Regions from separate parts of the Homo sapiens genome. Here region 2 is linked to region 1. Evidence: promoter capture Hi-C in human tissues and cell types (Jung and others, 2019). All regions are on one chromosome and are shown on one strand. Each heading gives the region's core, a stretch centred on a gene start or on the middle of the fragment in contact. The rest is flanking DNA. Distances are from core to core; before and after follow the strand shown.

The links. Contacts are between HindIII fragments. The study calls those that stand out against the background at their distance.
Region 2: the fragment with the promoter of FASLG here is called in contact with a fragment that was not itself captured in region 1 in 1 of the 25 tissues and cell types used here (pancreas).

Annotation. Positions count from the first base shown.
Region 1 is chr1:172,888,522-172,895,843 of GRCh38, reverse strand. No RefSeq gene overlaps it. Among named protein-coding and RNA genes, the nearest start is that of TNFSF18, 160 kb to the left of the region's middle. The HindIII fragment of the contact is 4,383 bases long and covers 2,171-6,553 here.
Region 2 is chr1:172,654,569-172,661,890 of GRCh38, reverse strand. It overlaps FASLG (Fas ligand), which reads right to left and starts at 2,788. Exons shown (of 4, transcript NM_000639.3): 1 at 2,342-2,788; 2 at 1,751-1,796. The coding sequence starts at 2,689. The HindIII fragment of the contact is 6,455 bases long and covers 465-6,919 here.

The DNA of each region.
Region 1 (7,322 bases), core at 3,113-5,612:
GATGCTACAGGGATGAGAAGAATGCTTCGCCATTTTTGCAAATTAATCCACATACATTTTATAGACATAAATATAAGTGTGGAAGGATACATAGCAAACTGATAATATTGTCCACTTCAGGGAAAGGATCAGCAAGGGAGACAATATTTTATTCACTTGTATTTGTTTGACTTACACCAAACATACATTACCTTCATAAATTTTATTAAGCAGAGAGTTTTAGTAAATATAAAAGTTATAATAATTATATTTCTATCACCAAAAGTTTAATTTCATGGACACCTTAATTCATTAACACTCAAAAGAATAGAAAATAGAAAGAAAACACCCAAATAGAGCAAGTTTGTCAATATCATAGTACTATTGTTAAAGGAAACCAAAGGAAGAAATGACTTTACTGAATGATCCACAGAATTGTTTTGCAGTTTCACAGCTCACAGATTGTTTTTCACCGGACGCATCTAAGCTTCTAGTGTCGAGTTTCACTTTCAAATGTCAAAGCAACACCTCAGGAAATACACATGGCTCAGCCTGTTGCCTTTGCTTATAAAAAATCGACTCCCTTTTCAGTTAGTACTGATGGATGAAAGGACATTCTCTGATCTTTTCACCAGTAACCAGTCATATAAATCCTCCGATGAGCTCTAATTTAGTAATCTGAAATGTACAGTACTATTCACAAGTTTTTCATGACTCAGAATTTGCAAAGAATTTGATCAGGTTTCCTTTTCTAGTTTTGGTGGTATTGAGTCTGGGGAATTAATATCATAATGATCTATAAAAATGTTTCAGCTGGCTTTCGCGCTCTCTCGCGCTCTCTCTCTTTTTCTCTCTCTTTCGGTTAATATCTTTGCATCTGTGTTTCCACCAAAGAAATTTGGAACACATATCATATGACAGTGTTGTTGACACACCCCATATCTGCTCTTCAGCTTGTGTGGACACTTCTTTTTTCACTAGAGTGCTTTATTATGACTTACCTTGCTACTGTCCTGCAGGTGAACAACCCACAGACTGTGGTACCAAAATGTTTTGCGCTGAAGCTTGTAAGACAGTCACCCCTTGCATTGTTCATTCAGGCTTGATAGGATTCTCTGCAGGAAATCATCTTGAAGAGCTTGTCTTTGAAGAATACCTCTCACCACACAATTGCCCATATCTCAGGCCCTTTTTGTTCAACAGCCAAGTCATCATGTATTAATACTGTTTATACTGCCCTAAAACACAGGGACATCCAAAGGCATGCTACACCAGATAAGAGAATGAAAACCCCCTTCTACCAGTCAATCATCAGCTCTAAGGTCTTATTTCTATATTTCACTGAGTCATTTTGGAAATCATGCATGTGAAAGTCTTTTGATCTTGTATCAGCATTGGGGAAAATGAACAACTTTCTCGTATTGATTTTACAGCTAAAATTTCTCCATCCAACTGAATTGCTCAAATTGGTTAAAATCATAAATTGGCTGAAAACCAATACAAGCGAATAAAACATTGTGTCCCTTGCTGATCCTTTCCCTGAAGTGGACAGTATTATCCGTTTGCTATGTATTCTTCCACCCCTTTCTTTACAAACCAAAACAAATTGGTTAAAATCACAAATTGGCAGAAAATAACAACTTTCCAGTTACTGATTTTTTAAACATAAAGGTAATTTATGTATATCATAAGATCATAAGACTGTTTTATAATTTTTATGTTTTGATTCATTTTACATCTTTTCTTCAGAAAGTATTTGTTTAATGGTCATTTGGTTGCAGTTCTTTGTAAATGTTAATTTATATTTTAGTATTTTTATTTATTTTTGGAAACTATTTCTCACATTATTTGTGTAGCCTAGGTAGTTAGTTTACTGCAGGAAAAGAGTTTTATTGTTATCTGGCCACAAAGGTGATCTCGACGTATCAAATCTTATCAGAAAGTCTCGTCTTAATCTTTACTGAAATCTGGATGTTTCTGTTTACTTGGAATGCTAGGAGGTCCTTTTGAATGTTAGTCAGCTTTACTCTCCTTGTTCTCTAGACTTTTAAAGATATTTTCACAGGAGTCTACTAAAGACACCTTCCCCCCACTCAGCCCCAACCCCACCTCATGCACAGCCTCCTCTCTGGGATTCTGCCTTGTAGCATAAAGAAGGTCTAATTAGGATAAGGATACATCAACAGGCAAGGAGCCAAACACCAGCAGGCAAAGAGCCAAAGACCAGCCTTACTCTCCTTGGTGCAAGAATAAGGCTAAGCTACCAGAGTTCTGTGTTTTTGTTGGCAAAGCTCATGTCGTTTCAGGAAAAAGACTATTCCTGCCCAGGCCCATCTCCATGGTTCCAGAAACCTCATTGTCCTTTAAATATGCAGGCAACTATTCTGGGTTACCTTCACCACCAGCACCATCACAGTAATTCTGAAAATGACAGTTATTGGTGTCTCTGTGCTTTGGGAATACCCTTCTTCCCAGAATCACAGTGCATGTTAGCACTGGTGGCTTCCTCCTCCTCAGTCAGCTATCAAGAAAGCCAGAGATATCATCAGCCTTGGAAAGGAAAGGACAGCCCAACAGCCTTGCCATACAGGATTTTCCAGTAGACCTGATAATGAGAATTCTGAGATTATGTTGGTTAGGCCTGGAATGAAAAAAGAAAAACTCAGAGAGGGCAGGATGACATAGGCAAGGCAGCTAGCTTGGCCATCAATAGACTGCTCTTTCCAACTCTGTGAAACATCCTTCCTCTTCCCCTGGAGTAGTCCCTCAATATATGCTTCTATTTTCATTCCTCCCTGATTTTCTAGAGCCTGGTTCCATCATTTATGAACCCATTCCTTCTTAGCATGGGATCCCCTAAAAGAAGACACTGAGACAAAGATTCACATACTGATAGTTTATTTGGAAAGTCATCAGGGGAGTGGAGAAGTGAGACAGGAAAGGGGAGCAACCAAGGGTTACTACAATGGAGCAGACCAAAGAGTAATCCTGTGGAAAGCCCCAGGAACCAGCCTGGGAGCTGCCACAGAGGAATCTTACTGTGTGTCCAGGGAGGAATGTATACACCAAATTTCTTCCGTCATTGTTTGAGGGCTCTTCTAGGGGGTGAATAGACATTCTGGGACTTCTGTCCTGACACAAACCTAGGTAAAGCATCCTCCCAAAGGCTTAGAAACCTTCAGGCCAAGAAATGCAGATCCTGGACAGGAGGAGCACACTGCAGGTGGGGGTGGAATGGGCCAATGTCTGCCTTTCCTCACCTTTCCATTTGATAGAGGAAGAAAAAGAGAAAGAGGAGGAATGGAAAGAATGGAAAGCTTACCCCGCCCCCCAAAAAAAATAAAGACAGGAAAAGAGAAGGAGAAGAAAAAAAATTGATTTTACTATTTATTTAGCATCTACTATGTGCAAAGCATCTTACTGACTTGTCGTGGCAATCTTACAAGTTAGGCATTTTATCATACCTATTTTACAGATGAAGATACTGAGTTTAAAGAAGTTAGGTAAAATCCCCATCCCCCCCGCCACCCCAAATTAAACAACTAGCAGGTTAAGAAGTTAGAATTCAAATCCAGTTTCTCCTTCCTATCTCAAAATCCTTTAGTACTTTATCATTGTTTAGATATATATGGCTCTCCATGATCTGATCCAGTGTAATATGAAAACCCTTAGCCTGGGAGTTGGAAGAGCAGAGTTTCAGTCCTGAAGATGCCACCCAAAGCCCCACTGGAATCATGCCCAGTCATTCCATCTCTGGGCCTCATTTTCTTTGTCAGTAAAACAAGGAGCAACACTACATGATGTTTAGGGCATCTGCCAGTTCTAACAGTTTAGGATTCTACTTTCCAGCCTTATCTTGAGTTAATCTCCTACACACAACTATATTCCAACTAAACTGGAAAAAATCTTCATTTCCTTAATATACTCAATGCTTTTCCAACTCTCCTACTCTCTCCCAAAGGCTGTCCCTGCCTGATTACTTCATGCCTAAATCCTCCATAATTTCCAAATACTATCTTGTCCAGAAAGGCATTATTTTACCACTCAAGCAAGAAATAATATCTCATTTATCTGAAGTCTCATAATATTTTTTATTTTTTTATAATGCCAAATTCTATGTTTTATTCTCTCCTATATAAAACCTGTGAAGTTACCTTACACATAACCATGCATCACCATGTATAGCATAGACTCTGGAGTCACATTTCCTGGGTTAGAATCCCAGCTCTACCACTTTCTAGCTACACAACCTTGGGCAAAGTTTTCTGTGTCTCAGTTTCCTCCTCTGTAACATGGTATAATAATATTACTTACTTTAGTGGAAGCTTGGAAAGTTTACATGAATTAATATTTGTAAAGTGCTTAGAGCAGTTTCTGAGACAATAACCACTATGTATGTGTTTGTTATCATTATTAGAAATTGTTAGTTCTCTTTCTTTTTAGTTTGTAATACTTTGAGAGTGCCTATTATCTCTCTTAGCATCTTATAAATTTTCTGAGCATAGGAATGTGTCTCTTTACTTTTATATCTTTTTTCTTTTCTTTTTTTTTTTTTTTTTTTGAGATGGCATCTGGCTCTGTCGCCCAGGCTGGAGTGCAGTGGCGTGATCTTGGCTCACTGCAAGCTCCACTTCCCAGGTTCACGCCATTCTCCTGCCTCAGCCTTCTGAGTAGCTGGGACTACAGGTGCCTGCCACCACGCCCGGCTAACGTTTTTGTATTTTTTTAGTAGAGATGGGGCTTCTCCATGTTAGCCAGGATGGTCTCGATCTCCTGACCTCATGATCCGCCCACCTCGGCCTCTGAAAGTGCTGGGATTACAGGCGTGAGCCACCGCGCCCGGCCTACTTTTGTATCTTTTCAGCATAATTTCTTATGTGTAGCAAGGACCCAATATATATTTGATGAATATGTGTCTATGTGTGTGTGCTAATGTAATGTTATGTGTGTACCTGTCATTATCTTCTTTTGTTGTGTACCTTGATTTTTTTGTCTTTTTGTTTTCCTTCTGCAGAAGTCCTAGAGTAGGAATTGTTTTATCATTTTGTTTTTTTGTATTATAATGATATGTTTGTATTAAGGTCCTTGAAGAGCTTTTCCTTTGTGGGGTTTATAATTGTCTACTAAAACATACAGCATGTTAGATTATTAGATGTGTATTTGTTAAATGAATAAGCATAGGACATATGAACAAATAATATATACTTAATAAATACAGACTTTGGTACTTCTCCCTCTACCCTACTACCAAGTATGAAATCCTAAGATTAAAACCACTTTAAATTGTATGTTTTACCCTCAACTCTAGTCAAGAATAGATTTTCTGAGGTGTTTCTTCAAAACAAAACCAAATCTACGTTATTATTTTCTGCAAAACTTTCAGATGCCCCCCGATAGAGTGTGTCACAGAGTGGACAGAAACTTGGAAGGTCTGAGTCACTAGATAGAACTTGAGTGCATCTTCAAAACAGTTAAGAATATCAATAAATGATGCTTCAAATCAACATGAATTTTATTTTTTACAGATAAGATAAACATAACTTTTCTAGGTATTGGTAACAACTTCCCAGCATTAGGGGACAGTTTACAAATTTCTCTTTGTTGTTTTTAGCTAGTTTGGTTGGTTAGATCAGAAGTTCTGGCTAAACAGAATGTCTTGGTCAAATTAGGGAAATGAGATGAGTTTTTATGAAAGTCAACAAGCTTGGCTAATGTCTCATTTTCTTTTAAACCCATGGCTTTTAAGACATTGATAGGGCAATGCACTAGCTATCATGGATGATATAGTTTGGATGTTTGTTATCTCCAAATCGCATGTTTAAATGTAATTCCTAATCTTGGAGATACAGCCTGGTGGGAGGTGTTTGGATCATGGGGGGCTTCATGAATGGCTTGATGACCTTCCTGCAGTAATGAGTTCATGTGGGAGCTGGTTGTTTGAAAGAGCCTGGCACCTATCTCTCTCTCTCTCTCTTTCTCCCTCTCTTGCCATGTGACATACTGGCTCCCCTTGTGCCTTCTGCCATGATTGTAAGCTTTCTGAGGCCATCACTAGGAGCAGACACTGGTGCCATGCTTCCTGTACAGCCTGCAGAACCATCAGCCAAAATCAACCTACATTATTTATAAATTACCCAGTCTCAGGTATTCCTTTATAGAAATGCAAATGGGCTAACACAAAAAATTGGTACTTATGAGTGGGGCATTGCTATGAAGAGACTTGAAAATGTAGAAGCAGCTTTAGAACTGGGTAACAGGCAGAGATTGGAAGAATTTGAAGAACTCAGAAGAAGAAAGGAAGATGAGGGAAAGTTTGAAACTTCCTAGAGAATTGTTAGGTGGTTGTAAGAAAATGCTGATACAAATATGGACAATGAAGGCCAGACTGATGAGATCTCAGATAGAAATAAGGAGGTTATCAGCCATGGAGCAAAGGTCACCCATGTTACACCCCAGCAAAGAACTTGACTGCATTTTGTCCATGCCCTTCAGTTTTGGGGGATGGCTGAACTTAAGAGTGATGACCTAGGATATTTTGCGGAATAAATTTCTAAGCAGCAAAGCATTCTAGAAGTGGTGTGGTTACTTCTAACAGCCTACAGTCAGATACAAGAGCAAAAGAAAGACTTAAAGTTGGAACTTATATTTCAAAGGGAAGCAGAGCATAAAAAATTGGAAAATGTGTGGTCTGACCATGTAGTAAAGAAGGAAATAGTGTTTTCAAGGAAATAATTCAAGAGGCCTGCAAAGCAACCACTTGTTAGAGAGATTTGCATGATTAAAAGGGAGTCAAGTGCTAATAGCCAAGACAATGGGAAAAAGATCTTCAATGTAGCCCCTCTCATTGCAAGCCCAGAAGACAGAATGGTTTCAGTGGCCAGATTCAGGGCACTGCTGCCCTGTGCCACCTTGGAAGGCCATTCCCCACCTCCTGGCTGCTTATGCTACAGCCAAGGCTCAAACGGCCCCAGGTAGAGCTCGGGCTAACCCTATGGAAGGCTCAGCCATAAGCCTTGGTGGTTTCCAGGAAATGTTAAGCCTGCAAGTGCCAGAATACAAGAGTGAAGAAAGGTTGCCAGTTTCCACCTAGATTTCAGAGGATATATTGGAAAGCTTTGTGTCCAAGCAGAAGCCTACCTCAGGGGCAGGGTGCCCCCAGAGTGCCTCTATTAGGGCAGTACTTAGGGGAAATGTGGGGTTGCAGCCCCACACAGAGTGCCAATTGAGGCACTGCCTAGTGGAGCTGTGGGAAGGGGGCCACTGCCTTCCAGACCCCAGAATGGTAGATCCACCTGTAGCTTGCATCCTGAGTATGGAAAAGCCACAGGCATTGGACTCCAACC
Region 2 (7,322 bases), core at 1,539-4,038, 230 kb after region 1:
TTTGCTATGTATTTCTAAAGCGCTCTTCAAAAAAAGTTATAGCAATTTACATGTATACTGGCTGAAACTAATGTTTGCACAGGCACTTTTCTCTCAAATCTTTGTCAGTCTGGGTTTTTTTTTAATCTTTATTAATTTGATGAAAATTGGTATTCCCTATTTTTAATTTGCATCTCTTTTCTTATTAGTAAAGTTACTGATTTGATTTCCATGTGATGATTTACCAATTTCTGGTTTATTTGGGTTGATCTAGAGAACATAATTGCTTACTGGGGTAGATGGATCTGACTCACCTGATCATTTGACTTTTAATCACTAAATTGACTCCAGAGAGTGGGTGAAAGATGAATAATTAGATACCTATCAGACCAGGCACATTCCACAGATTTTCAAAATGATCTTATTTCAGACGTCCTCCAGAGGCTTTACTTTTCTATCAAATATTTCCACTCTGCTTGTGTACATATGGACTTTCTAACATTTAAGGATTAGGACACAGAAGCAGGGGCCAGAGCATCCCAACAGTGGCTCATATAAGAACTTAACAGTCTAGGATAGTAGACAGGCGACTGGGTCATGTGCAGTAGCCACATCCGGAGAAACTGGAACTTGCTTCACTTAATAGATGGCCAGTGCTGCCTTCTTCTTTATTCTGAGTTTCTAAGGATGAGATCTACCTATAGTCTTTGCAGAGGTATCCTGCTTTTCATCTATTTCTTATTCCATGCTCACTACAGAGAGACAGGAGTTTCCCTCCTTCATGAGGCACCAGTCCAGTACTGGAAAGCCCTGTAGGTGACAAGGCATCAAGAGCCTGTGTTCCTTCTAGCCCCAATGGCATACCAGTGGTCTTGGGCATATTCACCTAATCCATCTGGTATTTTGTTTCTCTTCCAAAAAATGAAATGGCTGGACTAGATATATTCTAAGCTTCCTTCCACCTCTAAAAATTCAATGAATCTCATTGTAAATCTAAATCTAAAATTTCAATGAATCTTAGACTAGTGAAGCACACTGTAAAATCTATCTGTACAGAGCTTGCACAACTATGCCCTGAAATTTCATGAGATCAGTGTTCAACCTATCATCTTCTTGCCCTAGCTCCCATACAAAGGATTTTCCTTTGTGATCAAGGGTACCTCATGACTGCCTCTGTGGGTGAAGCTGAACATCCTTTGAATGATGGCTGAAGTCTTCCCTTAAGCTTCTCAGTGACTTCAAGAAAAACCATTCTAATGTGGGGAATTGATTATCCATGTTTTAAAAGCTTACATCCTATAAAACATATTGTAAATAAAGCTTCAATGTAATCTCTTTAGGGCATTTAAAAGAGGAAAGGACGTTTCTCAGAAACATCTGTCTCTGCCTTCATTTCGCCTTCTCTTCCCAGGAGTTACAGCCACTGGCGTGTGTGCCAGGACCAGGATGTCTGTGGAAGGGGACAGGCCTGGAGCCACTTCTCAGGGGGCAAAGGTCCAGGGTTGTATATGTGTGTCTCTTTCCAAAGTCAAGTGGAAGTGATTTTGAATTGTGTGCAGTGCTCAGCTATATTGATTGTGAGCAATTCAATTCACTTCACATTTTTAAAGCAGCTCAAGGAATCATAGACCAGAGATTCTGAATTAGCCAGAATTCCTCTTATAGTGTACAGAAACCAAAGTGTGGGACAGAATTTAAGGCATTCCATTAACATAGTTCTGTGCTGAGGATCATCTTTGGGAACTCAATGTACATGCGAAAAAAGACTCACCTATTTGCTTCTCCAAAGATGATGCTGTGTGCATCTGGCTGGTAGACTAGTAAAACAGAAAGAGAAAAGATGTATAATAAAAATAAAATTCTTTAAGCAAAAGAGGCAGAATCGTCAAATAAACCAAGCCCTGGAAAGAGAATCCAAATACCTCAGAAGTTCTGCTAACTTGGGCTTTGGCCAAGCAATTTTGCCTCACTGTCCCTCAGTTTTGTGATTTGGAATCGTACCAATTTTCAAGATTTAGTTTGGTCATCTGAACAAATTTACTTCCAAGCAAAACTTAAAAGTTTTGTTTGTTTGTTTTTTACTCCTTAAATCAATAGGTATGAGGCAGTAAGTGGTTCAACAGACTGAGTTGACAACTGAGGAAAGACAAACTGTTGGGCTCTGATTCTTTACAAAGTAAAAAATATTCCCTTCACCCCTATGAGCCTCCATTTCTCTGTCTATAGAATAGAATAACTAGAACAACCCATTTCTAAGAAAAAAAAAAAAAGGATTGAAAAGCACTTTGCAAGCCAGGCAGTGGGCCCTCCATCCCCTTATGCCTGGTGCCTCCAGGGCACAGCAGTCTGCCGGCAGGCTTACCTCTCGGAGTTCTGCCAGCTCCTTCTGTAGGTGGAAGAGCTGAAACATCCCCAGGCCCAATCCTACCAAGGCAACCAGAACCATGAAAAACATCACAAGGAGACACAGGCCTGTGCTGTGGTTCCCTCTCTTCTTCAGGGGTGGCAGCGGTAGTGGAGGCAGTGGTGGCGGCGGCGGCGGAGGTGGTAGTGGTGGCGGTGGCGGTGGTGGTGGTGGCCTCCTTTGACCAGGCCTTCTGGGCACAGAGGTTGGACAGGGAAGAACTGTGCCTGGAGGGGCCCAGGGAGAGCTGGCACTGCTGTCCACCCAGTAGATCTGGGGATATGGGTAATTGAAGGGCTGCTGCATGGCAGCTGGTGAGTCAGGCCAGCCCCAGCAAACGGTTTTACTTCTTCTCAGTCCTGTAGAGGCTGAGGTGTCAAGGACGGGACCCTGTTGCTGACTGCTCAAGAGGAGGCAAGCTGGATCTCTCTTATAGAGTTTCCATAGCTAAGGGAAACACCTCTGTCTTTCTCTTTCTCTATCTCTCTCTCTCTGATTCTGCTTCTCAAAGAAACACCCACTCACTTTGCAGCTGAAGCTGAGAAGCCTCAAGAAGCTCAGAGCAAACCCCTGGAAGTTTCCGCCCACAATTTTCTGATAACAGCCTTCAAGGCCTCAGTTGCTGTCGCTGTGCTACCCAAACAGGTTAGTAGGCTATGCTCACCTTCCTGGGATCCTGCAGAGCAGGTCAGCATGGGGGTATAGCCCTGTTAGTGTGAACTGCTCCCAGCTACAGGAGAATGGTCAGTGGGGCTATAATTTTATGAATTATAATTGCATGCTTTTTTATACATTATAATTGTATAATTTTAAGAATTCTACCATATACACAACCAAAAAACTATTTAAAAATCCCAAAATAACTCTAACAAAAATTGTTCAGAACCGTATTTTTTAAACTATAAAAATTTTACTGAAAATGGCTCTGAGGGGAGAGACCATGGAGTCATGGCCAGAGAAGTCACTCCCACATTTTAGTTTTTGCAGGAGGAAAACATCTGTTGCCATCATCTCTTCCCCACACACAACTACCATTTACCCTGACCTGCCGATCACCATAATTTACAGGTTAAAAACCTGCTACACCCACTTTAGAAATTAGATCAGAGGCTGCAAACCAGTGGAACCCACAGAGCTGCTTTGTATTTCGCAATGTTTTCATTTTCATTGTTTGCCCAGTTTATTTATTTACTTATTTATTTAAATAGAGACAGAGTCTCACTCTGTCACCCAGGCTGGAGTGCAGTGGTGCTATCGTAGTTAACTGCAGCCTCAAACTCCTGGGCTCAAGCAATCCTCTTGCCTTGGCCTCCTGAGTAGCTGGGATTATAGGCATAAGTCACTACACCTGACTAATTTATTCTTTTTTTTTTTTGTACAGATGGGGACTTGCTATGTTGCCCAGGCTTGTCTCAAACTCCTAGCTTCAAGACATCCTCCTGCCTCAGTTTCCCAAAGTGCTGGAATTACAGGCATGAGCCACTGCACTGAGCCCAACTGACCACTTTTAATATCAACATTAAAAATATTTTAAAATATATATATTAAATACACATTAAAATACATATTTCTATTCTGTTTTGAAATATCAGAATATCAGACACCCTCGAGGCCATCTCTGCAAACCCAATCAGTGGGAAGTATGTAGCAGCTGCCCCTGAGAATGAGAGACAGGAGTTCTGGGTCACCCAGCCTCCACCACTGGCCTGTGTCTCACACACCACCTCACTATCTGAAAGGCCTGCCTGGTCCCTGCCAACATTTCTGTGTGCTGCCCCTGTTATGGTTGCCAGATGAAATACATGGTGCCCAGTTAAATTTGAATTTCAGATAAATAATACATTATTTTTAGGACAAGTAGGTCTTAAACATGTCCAAACATGGAATATACTAAACAATTATTCATCATATATCTGACATTCAAATCTAACTCTGTGTCCTATTTCTTTGTTTTGCTTTTTTTTTTTTTTTTTTTTTTTTGGTAGTTGTTGTTGTTGTTTAAAGCTGGCCTCTCTACTTGGGCTCATCTCACCATTTCCTCTGGCCTCACATACCATTTATATGCCAATAACTTCCAAGTAGTTAGCTTCAGTCCTAATCATTCTCCAATAGAAGCCAAATAAATCCCCCATAAATCAAAATTTTTCATTTTTTTCATGTTTATTACTTTTCAAATTTCGTTAGTTTTTATATCATGCTTTGGGATTTCCATTACTATCATTCAGGCCCACTCACCTGTACCACACCAACCCCAAGGGTACTATTTCTCTGATACATTCTGCCCATCCCACCCCATCCCCAACCCTGTACAACCCCTTTCTCCTGAGGCCACTCTTTCTGGTGGCAACTTCATCTCCTTTCTTTTCCTCTCCCCCAACGTTTAACTGGTCACCCAGGACTGTCGCTTTTACCTGAGACCTGTTCCTTACCCTCCCCTCAGTGTACTGCCCCCCTGCCCCATCCTCGCTACTCCCATTTTTCTTACTGCTGTTGCCTGGGGTCAGACTTTATCTCTCACTTGAAATACTGCAATAATGCCCTAACAGGTGCCCTGCCACCGACCTTTCCCAAGCCCAAATCACCCAGTAAAATGCTATAAGAAAAATGCTTTTTAAAAAACAAACCTAATGATCTCACTTCCCTGCCTTCTGTTGGAAGGTTTGATTCAGGAGCAAGGCAAGCTTCTTACCGTTACCCAAGGCTCTTTAGCGTCAGCTCCTACTGCCTCCTTACCAGGCACTCCTGCTCACATCCCACTCTCCACTCTTAAACAGTGCAAGGGATGAGACTAGCAAGACAGTGCACGAGTTAACGAGCTTTTGAACTCACATGTGACTTTATTCATCGTTATGAATTCAACTAACTTTAAATTTCATAATCAGAAATTGTAATTTTAAGAATTCTACCATATAGACAACAAAAAAACTATTTGAAAATCCCAAAATAACTGTAAGAAAAATTGTCCAGAACCATATATATGTATTTTTTATTTTTTTGAGATTGAGTCTTACTCTGTCGCCAGGCTGGCACGCAATGGCGTGATCTCAGCTCACTGCAACATCTGCCTCCTGGGTTCAAGTGATTCTCCTGCCTTAGCCTCCCGAGTAGCTGGGACTACAGGCACATGCCACCACACACAGCTAATTTTTGTATTTTTAGTAGAGATGGGGTTTCACCATGTTGGCCAGGATGGTCTCGATCTCTTGACCTCGTGATCTGCCCGCCTCAGCCTCCCAAAGTGCTGGGATTACAGGCGTGAGCCACCGTGCATGGCCCATATCTTTTAAATTATAAAAATTCTACTGAAAATGTCAAAGATTCAAATAAGTGGGAAAAATACACCATATCCTGGATGGGGAGGTGGTGTTGCATGATGGTTGGGAGTGGGTGGTTCTGGAGTTAAACTATGTGACTTCCAATCCCAGCTCTTCTGCTCATTAACTGTGTGAACTGGACAGGTCACCTTCCCTCCTCGGTGCCACAGTTTTCTCATTTATAAAAATAAGCATGATCATAATAGTACTTGCTTTACGGGGGTTGGGAGGATTAAATGAGTCAAAGCATTTGATACACTTAGAATAGTCCCTAGCACCAAGGTAGGCACTCAAAAGATGTTGTAAATTTAGTGAATCTTTCCCCAAATAATTCATCTGTAGACTTAATATAATCGACCTTCTTCCATTAAGGACAAACAAAGTGGAGAGAGGGAGAGAGGTTGCAGGGGAAAGTGCAAAGTCCACGTTTGACATCCAGTATCTCTCTGAGATCCTACCCTGAACTGATGAGCCTCTCCATTTCAGACTAGTACCTCTCGATTTTTCTATCTCAAACTCCCACAGGAACTTCCAGCACTGTCCAATAAGAATTATGCTGTATTTTTACATCTCCTTCTTCCCTGCTGCTTCTGTTGATTCATTCTGCAACAGAAGAAATTAGAAGACCATACCTGCCCCCAACTCTCCTGCTATCCTCCAGGCATAGAGAGAATCTGAACTGAAATAGAGTCAAAGAGAGCATCTTTAAACACTCATATTGATCTTCAGTAATGCCACCAAACATCACAGGTTGGCAAAGTCATGGAAAAATAAAACAACCCTATGTACAATAACAGGGACCCATTATGTTTTGGGGTATTTCCAAACCTTATTAATAAGGAGAAATAATTGTTACAAGTAGATCTTAGTTCTGTGAATGCTAAAGAAAATAATATTTGCCTTTGAGAGATGAACTTAATAAATAAATCAAAGGCTGGTGGCTCCCACAGGCTGGGAATTTAAATGGAAGAGCTTTGCTAAGTCTTGCTCTACCCTCCCCAATTACACCTGCAGAATCTCTGATTCTGGAACCAGAGGTTCCTTGAGGATAGACAAAGGAGAAATATTCAGAGCTGACAATCTCTTTGAGGAGGAGGGGGGGGCTTACGAGCCATAGAGATTCAAAGGGACCTGGGTGACACTTGGGAGCAAATTTATATGGAGGACAAAATAGGAGAAACCACCTTATACTAGTTGTTATGATTTTTTAAAGTATCTTCTCATTAGATGAAAATTCAAGTTATCTTCAATTGTGGTCCCTCCGGCATTGTAATTTCCTTCAGAAATTGTCTTAACCATCTAGAAAAAGGATTTAAGTATGCTGCTACACCTAGGATGTTAGTCACATGGAGGTTAAAAGGACAGGGGCATAAAGAGAACAAAGTTCCTATTTCTTTCTTCCATCCAGTGTTCTACCAGGGAAGTGGACTCAGTGGATTGTAACTCAGAGCTCCAGAGGTGACTCAGCAGTCGCAGAGAGTGATGCATAAGGAAAGTAGCTGCTATGAACCTTCACAAACCTAGAGGAGACTTCCAAGGGCATCTGCCAAGTTAGTAAGAAAACCAAATCTGATTTTCCCCAGAGGTGAGCAAAGACCCCAGTACACTCCTGGCTGAAACTTGTT